Regions from separate parts of the Homo sapiens genome. Here regions 2, 3, 4 and 5 are each linked to region 1. Evidence: promoter capture Hi-C in 16 types of primary human blood cells and fetal thymus (Javierre and others, 2016). All regions are on one chromosome and are shown on one strand. Each heading gives the region's core, a stretch centred on a gene start or on the middle of the fragment in contact. The rest is flanking DNA. Distances are from core to core; before and after follow the strand shown. Region 1 holds the start of RAD51D (RAD51 paralog D). Region 2 has its middle 79 kb from the start of CCL1. Region 3 has its middle 51 kb from the start of TMEM132E-DT. Region 4 has its middle 34 kb from the start of TMEM132E-DT. Region 5 has its middle 7.8 kb from the start of TMEM132E-DT.

What was found. Contacts are between HindIII fragments. The CHiCAGO score rates a contact against its expected background, and 5 or more counts as called.
Region 2: a contact is called between a fragment that was not itself captured here and the fragment with the promoter of RAD51D in region 1, in 1 of 17 cell types (M2 macrophages). The highest score is 5.3, in M2 macrophages.
Region 3: a fragment that was not itself captured here is called in contact with the fragment with the promoter of RAD51D in region 1 in 2 of 17 cell types (naive B cells and monocytes); the score reaches 5.8 in naive B cells.
Region 4: a fragment that was not itself captured here is called in contact with the fragment with the promoter of RAD51D in region 1 in 6 of 17 cell types (neutrophils, monocytes, total CD8 T cells and 3 more); the score reaches 11.0 in neutrophils.
Region 5: a contact is called between a fragment that was not itself captured here and the fragment with the promoter of RAD51D in region 1, in 1 of 17 cell types (neutrophils). The highest score is 6.0, in neutrophils.

The regions. Positions count from the first base shown.
Region 1 is chr17:35,118,610-35,121,484 of GRCh38, forward strand. RAD51D (RAD51 paralog D) reads right to left here and starts at 1,251. Exons shown (of 10, transcript NM_002878.4): 1 at 923-1,251; 2 at 502-563; 3 at 1-10. The coding sequence starts at 1,004. RAD51L3-RFFL (RAD51L3-RFFL readthrough) reads right to left here. Exons shown (of 7, transcript NR_037714.1): 1 at 2,682-2,875. RefSeq lists a silencer at 1,114-1,313 and an enhancer at 1,524-1,583. The HindIII fragment of the contact is 14,701 bases long and covers 1-2,875 here.
Region 2 is chr17:34,440,308-34,443,182 of GRCh38, forward strand. No RefSeq gene overlaps it. Among named protein-coding and RNA genes, the nearest start is that of CCL1, 79 kb to the left of the region's middle. The HindIII fragment of the contact is 5,517 bases long and covers 1-2,875 here.
Region 3 is chr17:34,527,242-34,530,116 of GRCh38, forward strand. No RefSeq gene overlaps it. Among named protein-coding and RNA genes, the nearest start is that of TMEM132E-DT, 51 kb to the right of the region's middle. The HindIII fragment of the contact is 1,910 bases long and covers 485-2,394 here.
Region 4 is chr17:34,544,294-34,547,168 of GRCh38, forward strand. No RefSeq gene overlaps it. Among named protein-coding and RNA genes, the nearest start is that of TMEM132E-DT, 34 kb to the right of the region's middle. The HindIII fragment of the contact is 3,877 bases long and covers 1-2,875 here.
Region 5 is chr17:34,570,104-34,572,978 of GRCh38, forward strand. No RefSeq gene overlaps it. Among named protein-coding and RNA genes, the nearest start is that of TMEM132E-DT, 7.8 kb to the right of the region's middle. The HindIII fragment of the contact is 2,042 bases long and covers 441-2,482 here.

The DNA.
Region 1 (2,875 bases), core at 1-2,500:
CAACCAGGGCCTGCCAAAGGGCCCCAGACTGCTCAGCAACAAATTGCCCGTAGAAGCTGGCATCCCAGGGTGTCATTCACCCTACTTCTCAATATCTGAGAACCCTCTGCTCCCTTTGGCTTGGGATGGACTTTTGTTATTGTTGTTGTTTCAGACAGGGTCTCACTCTGTCGCCCAGATTGGAGTGCAGTAGCACGATCTCGGCTCACTGCAACCTCTGCCTCCCGGGCTCAAATGATTCTCCTTCCTCAGCCTCCCGAGTAGCTGGGATTGTAGGCGTGGGCCACCACACCCAGCTAATTTTTGTATTTTTAGTAGGGACAGGGTTTCACCATGTTGGCCTGGATGGTCTCGAACTCCTGACTTCTGACTCCAAGTGACCCACCCGCCTCGGCCTCCCAAAGTGCTGGGATTACAGGCATGAGCCACCGCGCCCAGCTGGCTTGGGATGGACTTTTTAAAAAGACACTCAGGTTTGGAATGTGGAGATCAGGAGCTCACCTTGTAAGACAAGCCACATTTCTGAGCTACCTCTTCCAGGTCTGCAGAAACCAGGTCCACCACTGAAAACAAAACACGTATAGCGGATTGGCAGAGAGGACTGGGGCCTCCCACACTTGGTTTTTCCTCATCTGTCAAATGGGGTGTCAATTCTACCCCCCGGCAGGCCGTCTCAGGAGGCCAGTGTGAAATAACAAAGCTGCAGGAGCCGGCGCGGTGCCCTGCACACAGTAGGAATCTCTACCCTGTTTTAGAGCTTGGCTCCCCACGCCCACCCTTCCTGAGCCTCTCCAGAAGCGCGGCCCTCTAGGAATGGAGGGGAAGCGCCCTGCAGGTATGCCAGGGCAGTGCGCCAGCCCTCGGGGCCTGCCCAGGTTGTGCGAGGCCCGCGCGGCTCCCTGGCACGCGCACACCCGGTCACCTGTCTTGATCCTGTGGCTCCTGAGAAGCTGGATCATCTCCTCGGTAAGGCCAGGGCACAGTCCGACCCTGAGCACGCCCATGTTCCCCGCAGGCCGGAACAGCCCCAGGGGGACTGCACGTCACGTGGGCATTCGCGGGGGGTCCTCTCCAGACGCCCCTCCCCTACCCCTTCCTAGAGAGGACACAGGCGCGCTGGCTGCCGGAGGAGAAAGGAGAGAGGAGGAGGCGGCACCAAGGGTAGGGCTGGGGGTCATCCGCCCGCCCGGGATCCGCCGGGATTCCCGCGCCCAGAGCCCGCCCGCCGGGTCGCGCCGCGCTGCCGCTTCCGGGTTCCAGGCTGGCGCGCGGCGAGGACCTGGCCTGCAGCGCCATCTGCGGGCCGCACGGGGCAGAGCCGCTGCGCCCCTCTCCACCGCCTGCACAGGTTCCCGAGTCCCACGACCCCCTCCGCGCTCAACACGCCACCCGCGGCCACATTCGGCCTCTACCTTCTGCCGCAACACACACACCGACCTTCTAAAGAGCCTTCTGTGCGCCAGCTTCCGTTCCAAACGGAACGGATCTCCGCTGGAGACAAAATGCGACACAAGACGACCCGCCCTTACCCCCAGGGAGCTTACTGTGAGCAAGGGAAAGACAGACAATGAAAAGGAATCGCAGAAATCACATCATTACAGATTATACGACAGGTGTCAAGAAGCAGCAAAGCATCCAGAGGGCACCTGCGTCTATTTTTCAAAAGTTTGTTTTGTTTTGGTTGAGACAGGGTCTCGATCGGCCGCCCAGGCTGGAGTGCCCTGGTGAGATCTCAGCTTTGCAGCCTCGACCTCCTGGGTTCAAGCGATCCTCCTGCCTCAGCCTCCTGAGTAGCTGGGACTACAGTCACGTGCCACCTTGCCCAGCTAATTTTTGTATTTTTTGTAGAGGTTTCGCCTCTACAAAATGGGGTTACACCATGTTGCCCACACAGGTCTCGAACTACTGGGCTCAAACAATCCTCCTGCCTTGGTCTCCCGAAGTGCGGGGATTACAGGTGTGAGCCACCGTGCCCGGCCTCTATTTTTTATTTTATTTTTTATTTTTTTTAAGGGCAAGAAACCTTGGTTATATAGAACACACACAAAAAGATATGATTTGGTATTTTTAAATGTCCTTTGCTTTGCCTCATCCATAGGAAGAAATAAAACTTTACATGGTTATCTCATCACAAATCTGTGAGGGAGGCGCTATTTTTTATCCCTGTTTCACCAATGAAGAAACTGAGGTTCAGTGAGGTTAAATCACTTGCCAAAGGTCACCCAGCTAGGCGGCACAGGGCTGGACTTCACATCCACATCTGACTCTGCAAAGCCAGTGCTTTCTAACAGCCCCCCTCCCCACCCCTGAAGCTGTGTACATGTTTTCCTACTGTAAGGTGGTTTCTCTGAGAGCAGAGATCATGTGTGGCCCATCTCTGTATCCCACTGCAACTGCCACCATTGTCACTCCACACAGGAAAGTACTTGGGAGTGTGGGTGTGGCACATTTAGAATTCTAGCAGTGAAGTCTGATCATATGTGAGCCATGAACCCCTATGAACCATGTGGGCTTTCCCTTTCACTAACCGACTGGGCACAGTGGAGTCTGCAGCCTATGGTTTCAGGATAGAGAGCCTTAGCTTCTACGGACAAAGTTTCCCTCCCCAGCAGACACTTTCCAATACTGCCTATCTCTCAGGGCCACACCACCATCCTCTACATCCCACGCCCATCTCTCACCATCCTTATTCTCCTTCCCAGGGCAGTGCGGAAGGACACAGGTGTCAGGCATTTTGAGATCTTCAGAGAAGGGCAGGGCTGCCATCACCATGGAGTATTAGAGCTGGAAGGGGCCCAAGGGCTCATGCAGTCTGTTCCTTGGTTTTACCCCTCTCATGATGCTGCTTCACAGTCACACTGGCCCTTGGTCTGGC
Region 2 (2,875 bases), core at 224-2,723, 680 kb before region 1:
CTGGCCTTATGGAATGACCATCACAGCACCTGGCACCAGCTGGCACCCAACCAACCGTCAACAGCCCTCACCGCACAACCCCCTCTACCCGCTCTCAGCACTGCCATTCCCAACGCTCACCATACCCGATCCTGCCTCTTTATTTTTGCTCATGCAAAAACCCAACATCCTTCAGCAATCAGCTAAAATGCTCTCTCCCTCCAGAATCCCCCCAGAATATTCTCTCCCTCACACTGTGCAGAATTTGGGCTCCTTATTCTAGCACTCATCAAAGTCTACTTAGAATAGGGCCATTTGCATAGATGGGTAATTTGCTAAGTCTGCATTTAAGTTTGTACTACATGGAACAGGATGTTAGCTCTGAGGTGCCAATGAGATAGATACCTGGAAACAAAGTGAGTGTGAGTTGGGGCTACTCCAGGGCAGTCAGGGGATGGGGTAACATGAATTGTCAAGGGTGTGGTGATGCTGTGGGACAGAAGGAAGTGTGTGGGTATGTGCACACCAGTCTGCATATGTGCACTGGGGACTTCACACACACAGAGCTCCTTGCAGTCCTAAGTGAGCATTCAGGCCTCATTCTCTCTCTCTCTCTCTTCTCTCTCTCTCTCACACACACACAAACACACACACACACACACTGCACATATAATGCAAAGACATCTTGTAGATCTTCACATTCTTAAACCTCATGATTGGTACAAATTAAACAAATATTGAAAGAAACTCCAGCAGAGCTCTCCAAGCCTCAGTCCTGCTGGGTATACCAAAACACCTCCAGCAGCTGAACAGCACAATGATAAGGAATGACAATATGTTTTACCCTTTCTGGAGTGCTGTTCACAAGCAGCTCTTAGATCCTTGCGATCTGCTCCCATCTTTAGGGAGGAGGCCTGAGGGCACAGTCTGTTTGAGGCAGAGCTGGTGTTCAAAGTCCCTCTTGGGATTCTGACTCCCAAGCTCTACGGGCAGAAGCTGTGGAAGGCTTTATATCATCAGGTACTGCATCTCCTTGGGACTCTCTCCACAAGCAGAGTTCCTCCAAGCCTCACGGATCTACGCCTCCTTCTTCTATGAGACAAGAAACTGGAATTTTCCATGTGAGCTAAGTAATGAGGGCATGAGCATGCACATCCTCCCTTGAGGTTCAGCTTAGACACAACTTCCCCCAGGAAATCTCTCCTACAACTCTCCCCTCATCCCCAGGCTCCAGTATGTTCCCATAGCACCAAATCTTGGCAGGTAGTATAGTGGCCTGTTTGCAGGTCCGTCATCTGGATCCTGCAGCAGCCTTTGAGCCCTAACCACAGGGACAGGGTCTCATTCACCTATGGGTCCAGGTCCTGGCATATCTTAGACTTTAACAAAGCCTTACTGAACATATGGTTGGATGGATGACTGGATGGACAGATGGATGGAGGGATGGATGGATGGATGGATGGATGGATGGATGGACAGATGGACAGATGGATGGATGGATGACCCAGGATGCAAATGAACTCTATGCACAGCTACAGCTATAGAAGCAAGGCTCAATCACTTGCGGGTGTATGGGGAGAGGAGGAGGAGGGAGAGGGAACGAGAGCCGGCCTTTGTCCTCATCTCTTCCACCCGGCAATTTTCCCAAGGAAGCATGAGTTAGTCTTCTAAGGAAAGTAGAGGGGATGTGAATAGAGAAGGAAACCCCACTACCTTCAGTGGGGTCCAAGAAGGCAGCTCAGCCCTCAATCCTAGATGCCTCCTGAGCCCAGAGATCAGTCTTTAGATAAGAAAGTGAGTGTTCTCTGTCACTGCCCCTGCCAGGGGGAGAGAGGCCCCTCCTATACCTGCTCCTAGTACACTCTGCACCCATTACCAGTTTCCCTGGCTGAAAATCTCAAGAGATTTTTCCTCAAGTACTTGTATCTACAGGAGTTTAAGAAATGATCATGCAGAGAATTGTCATCCCCGACTCCTCTGCAAACCCTACAGAGGCTTGGAAAAGTTCATCTTCCCCAGACTCCCAACATTCTCTTTTCTGTGGCCAGTAGCCAACCATGAGCGAGTTCATTAATATTAATGTTAATAATCTCCTACATTTGCTTCACGCTTTCCTGCTTACAAAGCACTTTCAGATCCATCATCTCAGACAATCCTCAACACCAGCCTGAGAGGTCAGCGGGGCAGTGATTACCATCCCCATTTCACTGAGGAGGGAACAAAGGTCCGGGAAGAGAAGGGATCAGCCCAAGGTCACAGAGCAGCCAGGACTGGAGAGAGCTCAGGGCAGAGTCCAGGTGTCCTGACCCCCAGGCCAGCGCTGGGTTACTCCACCTCCATGCTGACAACCCCTTTCCTTCTCTGCCTCATCAATGTCACCATTGGCGTCATCTCCTGGTTCTCAGTCATTAAAAAGATAGGCTTAAAATAAATACAAGAGGCAGGCTTTAGCCATCTGCTAAAATGGGTAAAACGACCTGCCAGCAATTTGCTGGATGACCTTGGGCTAGACAGTTTCCTATCTGGGCCTGCAATTCCTTGTGTTTCAAGTGACAGTGCTGGCCTCTTCTCCTCCGGCCCTACCCACTGTGACGGGAGGCTGCTGGAACCTAAGGGTGCCACCCTTGGTGCCAGACTGGGGCTGGCAGCAATCATGCCTCTGCGATCCCCTCCTCAGCACTCTGGAGTGGGAGGGATAGACACCTGTCATGAGCCTGTGACAGCCAAAGGATGGAGCTATAAAGCAACAGAGGACTGGCAAGAACCCTCCTGAGCGTGGGGGTGGAGCTAATCACAATTGCTACAGTGTAGCTACTCTATGACAAGTGCTTTATGCATGTTATTGACATGCCTCAAAATAGTTCTACCAGACAGCAATTAGCAATTATTTTCATTT
Region 3 (2,875 bases), core at 190-2,689, 590 kb before region 1:
AGGCTCAGAGACACAGGGCTGGAGCCTGTCGCCTGGCTCTGAGCTGCGTGTTAGATTCCTGAGCATAGCCCCCAGCTCCACGTGGGGTGGCTGACATTCCTTGGGTTTCTCTCCACCCTCCCTGCTGCCCACAGCCGGGAGGTCCCTGAGCTCTGCCTGTTCTCATCCCGGTCCACTGCCCCTTCTGGGGACCTTGGCATCTCCTGGCTGTACACTGGCCATCCTGCCCGCATGACTGGCCCCCACACCAGCTTCCTGTACTTATACATTGGTTACTTGGTTCATTCAACTCCTACTGCGTGCCAGGACCTACTATGTGCTAGCACCACTGCTAATCCCTGCCTACTGGAGTGAAAAACATAGTTCCTGCTTTCTAGGAGCTTACAGGGTAGTGGAGGCGGGATGGTGGGTTTCGGGGGGGTTGGGAGGGGGACCATGAGACTCCACGAACTTGGGAATGAACCCTTTCAGGGAGGGGTGGTGAAGCTTAGGGTGAGGTAGGTCCGGTGCTGTAGGAGGAAAAGGGCGGCGCAGCTGCTGCCACAGAACGGGTCCCAGCACAGGGGAGGCATGAGTTCAGCCTTAAAGGACGAATAGGAGTCAGCCACCTGGGCTTTGCCCCTCCCTGTTTTCCATCTGTCAAAATTCTAACTAAAAGGCCCAACTTAAAAACCCTTTCCCCACCACACATGCTTCCACTCTTATGAGTACTCAGTAAATGTTGCAGGCAAGGTCCTTCCCTAGGCCCCTGCTGACTGTGCAGGGTCCGCTTAGGGCCTCCCTTCCCCGGGTGGTAAGAACAGCGCCCCCTAAAGTTCTGCAGTGCACAACCTGCACAGCTACACAGGATGGCCCTTAGGCTATCGGTGATTTTCTTCCTCAGCATCAGCCCTGCCTGCTTTCACACAGCAGAATATCAAATCCGTCCTCACCTTGCTCGACTCTGCTGCCCATCCACCACTCTGTCCATTTCCACCTGCCTCACAGGCCCCTCTCCTTCCTTGAAACCTTACCTCTGCTTTCAATGGCTTCTGCTGACGTGGCAAACCACGTTTAAAGTGACCACGGCCATAGTCCTGTCCCATCTGTGTTCTCAGAATCCTCCTCTGAGCATCGTTTTAAGAAATATATCGATTCATGGAATTAGGGAGTGTCAGCATGTGTGCATGGACTACAAATGGAAAAGGGAAGTCACGTCATTGACCATATACTGTGTGCAAGCCACCGTGCTAGCTGCTTCACATATCTAGATAGAGGCTATTTTAAGTGAAAAGAAGAAAATTATCTCAGCCTTTTAGGATGGAATGGAAGGGAGCCAAAGCTGGAGGCATTTGCTGAATGCACACATTGAATACATATATGACAAAGCGCTTCAAGTTCCATTTTCTCCCTTCCTGAAACTCCTTCTGTACATATAATGCCCTTTGGTCTATCATGATAGTGTAGATGAGTGTGAACTGAAACAGACAAATGAGGGCTTGAGACTGTCTTCCTAAGAGTGGGAATTGAGCCCATCATTTCAGCTCTCTAGGCCTCAACTTCTTCATCGATGCTGTAAAGGTAACACTAGAAGCACCTCGCAGGCTCACCAGGATTTACTGGGCAACCCCACACCAAGTGTTTAACATGCTGCCGGTCACATATTAAGCAATACACATGAGCTACTCTTACTGTTGCCGTCATTGTTGAGATGCCAGCTTCTTTCCTTGTTGGAGTCTCCATGCCTGCTCAGTGTACATTTGAGTGATGAGGATGAGGATGGCAGGAGCTGCACCAGCCCCATTCCCATGCCCATCTCCATGGGTCCAAGCAATCCAGCAAGTGGGAGTCAGGGGGCAGCCCTGAGAGAGGTATCCTGGAAAGCACTAGTTGGGGCACTGGTTCTGCCAAGTCCACTTTTCTGGGAGCCACTGTCACCACACGAGGGTGCGAGAAATAAACCAGGAGTATGCATACAGCTCCCCAAAGGGTGCTGAGAGGCCGAGAAGGTTGATGTTTTCCAAGTGATTTGAGATTGTCAAGTAAAATCCCCTATGTAAATATGATTCCCTAATGGATTCATGGCAGCAAGGGAGATGTCGTTCAACTGACTATTTAACAAAGCTGTTTAAAGAGAGAGAGATGGTGGAGATCATGTTTTATGTATTAGATGTGAAAAAATTCTCTTTAAAATTTGTCTCAGTCATCTGAACGCTGGAGTTCCGATAAAGACCCAAGTTTTATGATAGATGTTTTACAAGGATGCACACCTTCTCTGGCCTTCTCTGGCATCACCCCACCCTCCACTTCCTTCCCTGATCAAATCCTCAAGAGATACATTTAATCCTCCCCCATTCCCAAAATGTTCTAAGGCAAATATGCAATATCATTTTTCAAGTGTGCATTAATAATGCAAGCTTTACACCAAGTTTTCAAACTGGATTGGCATCCTGGGCCGATGTAGAAATGTCTGGGTCAAATATACTTTAAAGAAAAATTTCTTTAATTAGTTTCTTTTGAACGTTACACAAAGGCCTTGCCTGATAGCGAGGCAATTTATTGCCATCTTGACATTGCCTCCGTGTTTATCAGTTAAATGATTCTATTGCATTGAAAATAGGACATCTTAGCTCTGAAGGACCTTGCAGACTTGTGTACTTACTATCCTTCTCCTTGTCTGCTTTTGAGAAGGCTCTGGGCATTGTTCTCTCTGGTTTGAAGGTGAAAGGGTGGTCAGCCTGGCCTGGAGATCAAAGTCATTTGGCCAACATTATAGAACAAGGAGAAGCCAGAGTTAGATGAATAACTCAAATCTCCCTGTATGATCCTGGCAAATTGCTCTATCACCCCAGACTGAGTTTTCTCATCTCTGAAACGGGTGTAATGATGATATCTC
Region 4 (2,875 bases), core at 233-2,732, 570 kb before region 1:
CTTGAGCCAAAAATTCTATCCTAACCCAATGGGAGGGTGGAGGTCAGAGGGATACAGCTGTCTGCCTGAGTTCCAATCACAGGTCTGAATAGGTCATTTCTTGTATCACGCATTTCCCCCAGAAAGGGCTGAAATGCTTTTCCAACACAGGAGAGGTCAGAATAGGACCAGTCACAAAGCCAGAGCTTGTGGTCTCAGAGAAGCTGCCCAGGAGCCTCCGGGCTTCCACTCCTCTGCCCACACATCCTCCCAACCTTGGTCTTGTGGCATCTTTCCAGACACTGTCAGGGATGGTAGGCCATGGAAAGATTCAAAGACCAGGACAGTGGTGCTCAGAACTTTGGTGCACAACAGACTTCAGGGAGAATGTTGACAATAAAAACATCAGGATGGTTTAGGGCATCTGTGTGGTTAGCAAACTCCCTGTGTGTCTCTGAGGCATGCCAGAGTTTGAGCCTACTGGACAAAGGAAATCCTCAGATGGAAAAAGGATGGATGTCTCTATTTGGTAAGCATTTATTATTGTCACTACTACTATTAATATTGTTAGAAGAATTGAATTTTACAGCAAATGTTGTAATAGTCAAGTAGCTGAATGATAATTACCAATAATGATAATATCATGATTTGCAGCTACTGTGTACCAGGCTCATTTTGTGCATGAAAACATATCCTTACGTAAATAAAATGTGGTACATCCATACAACAGAAAATTATTCAGCCTTTTAAAATACAGGAATTTCTGACACATGCTGCAATATGGATGAACCTTGATGACATTAGCTAAGTGAAACAAGCCAGTCGCAAAAGGACAAAGATTGCATGACTCCACCAATATGAGGTACCCAGAATAGTCAACTTCACAGCAACAGAAAGTAAAAAGGTGGATACCAGGGCTGGGGGAGGGAGGAATGGGGAGTTACTGTATAATGGGGACAGAGTTTCAATCTGGGAAGATAAAAAAGTTCTGGAGATGGATGGTAGTGATGGTTGCACAACGATGTGAATATACTTCATGCCACTGGACTACGCCCTCAAAAATGGTTAAAGTAGTAAATTTTATGCTGTGTATACTTTACTACAATTTTAAAAATTATTTCAATAAAGCTAGGTTGGAAAGTGAAGCATGAACTTCAGAGTCAGGCAGGTCTGGATGTGAATCCCAGCTGCCTGAACAATCTTTGGCAACGTGACCTCCCTGAGCTTCCACTTTCTTTTCTGTGATATGAGGAGGGGGCAAGAAGCAACATCTTGGGGTGTATGGAATGGCAGCCATTTTACAAAAATTATCTCAGATATCTGTCCCCCAGCCCTATAATGCCAGTGGGTAATTATTAGCCTCATTTTACAAATGAGAAAGTTGAGCCTCAGTGAAGTGATGGAGTGTGTGTAAGGTCACACAGTCAGGAAGTAGAAGGGCCAGGGTTCAAAATATAAAGATAAAGATGAACATAAAACTGGGCTCTGTATTTCCTGCATTATGATCCTCCAGACACATCTTGAAGCACACGCAGAATCTCACCTTGGGTTTGAAGACTTGGAGGGCACAAACCCAGATGCCCGATTTAGGGACCACTGTTCAGATTCTGATATAAAACCTACTGTTTTAAAGGCCATTACCCAGCACCTCTCAGTTTATGGGCCTCTTTTATATTTACAAGTCCTATGAATGTGCAATTGAAATAGACCAAAAAATGTGTCTCTAGAATCTTACGTGCTTGGAAATCAAAGCAGGACACACTGGTGAAGACAGAAGTTGTTCCAAAAGCTGAAGTCTAAATTATGGGAATCAAGTTGAAATCTCAGTTCTCAGAGTAAAGTTCAAAATACATAAAGAACCAGACAAGATAACAGGTATCATTGCCAAGAGAAGGGAATGGAACTTCAGCAGGAAAAACAAGCCCAAGAGAGTTATCAGATGCTAAAGACCCAGGGTTTCCATGCCACTTCCCCGCCGGGGGCCTCACATGGAGCCCCCTGACTCCAGGATGTGCCATTCACATGTGCTATTCAATAAGATAAATGGTGCCCCCTTAAGTTGTGCGGTATGCCAGCCGGCTCCATCTTCAGGTTATGAGGATTTCTAAAGAGATCAACCATGGTGGGGAGTCAAAGAAGATGGTGAAGTAAGATGTGGGAAATGCCCTTTCAAAAGGTGAAAGCAACATATCCAACATGTGTGCAGCACCTGGTCTGTGTCTCCTTCCTAGGTCTTCACTTGTTTTGTCTCATTTTATTCTCTGCATCTCCCATTTAAGAAGCTCAGAGAGGTTCAATAACTTGGCCACAGTCACACAGCTAGTTTTGGTAGAACCCCAGTTGGAATCCAGATCACTGACTGCACATCAGTCCCTCTCCATCCAGCCACCAGCTGAGAGGACTCCAAGCCAGTCTGGACATGATTTTAACCAGGCCAAACCAGGCTGGAAGAGCCATTGAGGGCTGATGGAAGGAGGAAATTAAGCCACAGAAAGGTAACCTGAAGGGTTTGGGGTATAAACAGAGGGAGGAGGAGACCCAGTTCCTCTAAGCTCTAAGGACCGGGGGGATGAGAATTGAGGGGTTACTGTTGATTAGCATCAGTGAAAACTAGCATCCAGGGTAGGGAGCTGCCACTTGTCTCCCCACTTTCCCAAGTCTCTGTCTTTCCAGGCTTTACTGAGGGATGACCAGTCTGTCCCTGGGTTCTGAACATTCTGGAAATGGCTCTACTGGGGTATTGGAGGGTAGGGGCACTGGAATGCAAAGCTCTGACTTTGGGTCAGGAAGCCTATCTCAGGCACTTGGGTCCAGAAGTGGCCTGTGAACTCAGCATTGGATGGGAGAAAGAGGGACTGAGGTCTTGTCCTTTCTTGGCCCCTTTGAGCTTGACTTT
Region 5 (2,875 bases), core at 212-2,711, 550 kb before region 1:
ATCCCAGCTCTGCCAGTTTCTAGCTACATAACCTTGAACAAGTGACTTTCCCTCTCGGAGGTTCAGTCAGCTTCCTCTCTAAGTGTAGATAATATTTACACACCACTCAAGATGATAGAGAAGCTTCAAAGAGGCTTTGGATAGAAAGTAACTGAGAGTGCAGGGCTGTGGTATCTGAACTACTGCCTCTTTTGCCATACATTCGTTTGTTCAGTAAATGTCTAGGAACATTTACCCCATGTGTGCCGCTGTGTTCAATGTTATGGAAGATTTAAAGATGAACAAAATGTAATCTGTGTCCCTCTATTAATCAATTATTGCATTGCTATAAAGAAGTACCTGAGGTAATTTATAAAGAAAAGAGGTTTAATTGGCTTCTGGCTCTGCAGGCTACACAGGAAGCATGGCACTGCCATCTGCTTCTGGTGAGGGCCTCAGAAAGCTTCCAATCATGGAGGAAGGCAAAAGGGAGGGGCTGGCATCACATGGTGAGAGCATGAGCAAGAGAGAGAAGTGGGAGGTGCCACACTCTTAAACAATCAGATCTCATGTAACTCAGATCTCGCAAGAACTCACTCATGATCTCAAAGACAGCAACAAGCTATTCATGAGGGATCCACCCCCCATGACCCCTCCCACCAGGCCCCACCTCCAACACTGGGGATTATATTTCAACATGAGATTTGAGGGGACAAACATCCAAACCACATTAGTCCCTACAGATTTTATACGTGAATGAGAGGAAGGCTAAACAAAGATCAGATGGATTCTAACAATGAGGCAGACAGTGATTGATTCCACCTGGGGTGGATGAAAGAGCCTTTACAGAAGGGCCCCAAGAAGAGATGGGGAAGGAGGAACAGGCATTCCAGCAGAGCAAAAGGGAACCACGGCAGAGAAAGGCATGACTTTTTGGGGAAGAATGGCTAAAAGTGGGGAGGGTGGGCTGGAAAATATGTGTCAAACCCTAAATGTAAATCTGGGGAATTTGGGATTAATCCTGTGGGCATTGTGGAGCCATAGACGGGTTTTTAGCAAGAGGAAGACGTAAGTGAGCTGAGAATCAGATTTGGGAGGTAGGGTGGGAACCTAAAGCAGGATTCCCATCTTAAAGGATCTGGAAAGAGAACCTGGGTTTTGATCTCAACTCTGAAATGGGCTCCTGTGTGAAATCAGGCAAGATACCCACTGCTGTGGGCCTCACATTCCCCCTGTAATGCTCACAGGTTACCAGGATGGCCTCTAATGGCCCATCTGGCCATATGTCTATGATGTGAGGGCTTCCCCTCTTCAGAGTAGACCCGGCTTCCTCTGCAGTCCTCAGCATGCCTGGCTCCTTCTCTCACCCTCCCAGCAGGCCCAATTGGCCCTCCTGCCCAGTTCAGGAATCCTGGGCACTGCCAACCCCAGGAGCCAGGCAGAGCTGGCTCAACAACTCTGGGAGGTCACGGGCAGCTGATCAGGAGGCCATGGAGAGAAGTTGGGCCCCCGGCTCTTCCTCTCCCACTTGTACCTGGCAGCCAAGTTGGCCAACAAACAAGAAGTTGAGGAGCTTGTAACCACATCAGAGTTCGCTGCCGTTTGGCTGCTGGGCTGTGGCAAAGAAAGTGTCCTTGCTCTCTTCGTCTCTGTATTTCCGTCTCTGGCTCTTGCTCTCTTCGTCTCTGTATTTCCGTCTCTGGCTCTTGCTCTCTTTCTCTGGCTCGCATTAGGCAAGTGCTTTGCCCTGGAATTAAATGAAGCTGTATGGGGGTGGGGAGGAAAAGAGAGGGAGGGGACAGCGGAGCCCAGCCTGCATGGCTCAAGTCCAAATCCTCCCTTGGCTGGGTGCCCAGGGTGGTCCTAGCTTACTGTCCACGTGGGCCAGAGGGAGGAAGAGAAAGGGGACAGCTAGAGTCAGGGCTGGCCACGGGGTGGGGGATGGAGGAAGTGTGATGCCTGAAGAGGAACTAAAGGTAGAGATTCTAGGGAAATGGGAGTAAAAAGATCTGTAAGCAGCCAGTACAGAAGGTAACCCATTTTGCAGAGAGTTGAGCTGCCCAAATAATGTTGGGCATTAATGTGGGGTCGGGGTCAGGGACTGTGCACAAATGTGTGGGGTCGGGGTTAGGGACTGTGCACAAACACACTGATAAAATGTTTCATAAGCCTCCCAGTGTCTTTGGCCCCAAACGTGTGAAGTCGTATAACTGAGTATAGTAACCACGAGCGTGCATGTCACCACAGACAGGTATCTTTGGGCACAGAGGCGATGGGCCTGCTTCCTCTCCAGCCCCTTTCCTAGCTTTGCCCCAGCTCTCAAATGCCCCAGCCATGCAGAAACACTCACTGTCTCCTGATCACACCATGTCCTCCCTGAATCCAGGCTTTAAAATGTTATTTTCTGTTCTTGAAGCAGCCTCCTCCCCTCCCTTTCTTCTCCCCACTTCCCCAAACCAGCTTGTCCTTCCCTTAGTGTAGCTCAAAGTCACCTCCTTCAAGAAGCTTTCTCATATCCTGCAGCACTCATGTCCTAGGCTGAACTAGATGCCCCTCGTTCCTGCCCCAGGGCTCCTGTGCTTCCTTCCAGGGCAGCACCCACTGCCACTGTGCATCATAATCCTATGTGTCTGCCCACTTCCCTCTCCCACACAATGGCAAACTCCTTGAGGGCAGAGGCCATCTCATTCATCTAGCATAGCTCCAAACACACAGTAGGTGATTAATAATTCACTTAGTCAATAGCCATTAACTGAATACTCAACAGACATCAGGCAAGGGGCACATAACAAGGGTCAACGCAGATAGTGCCTGCCTTCCTGGGTCTCCCCTTTATGGGAGGAGACAGGCAAATCAAGGCGATCTGAAAGCTGCTTAGATGTGGGAGACGCACGGC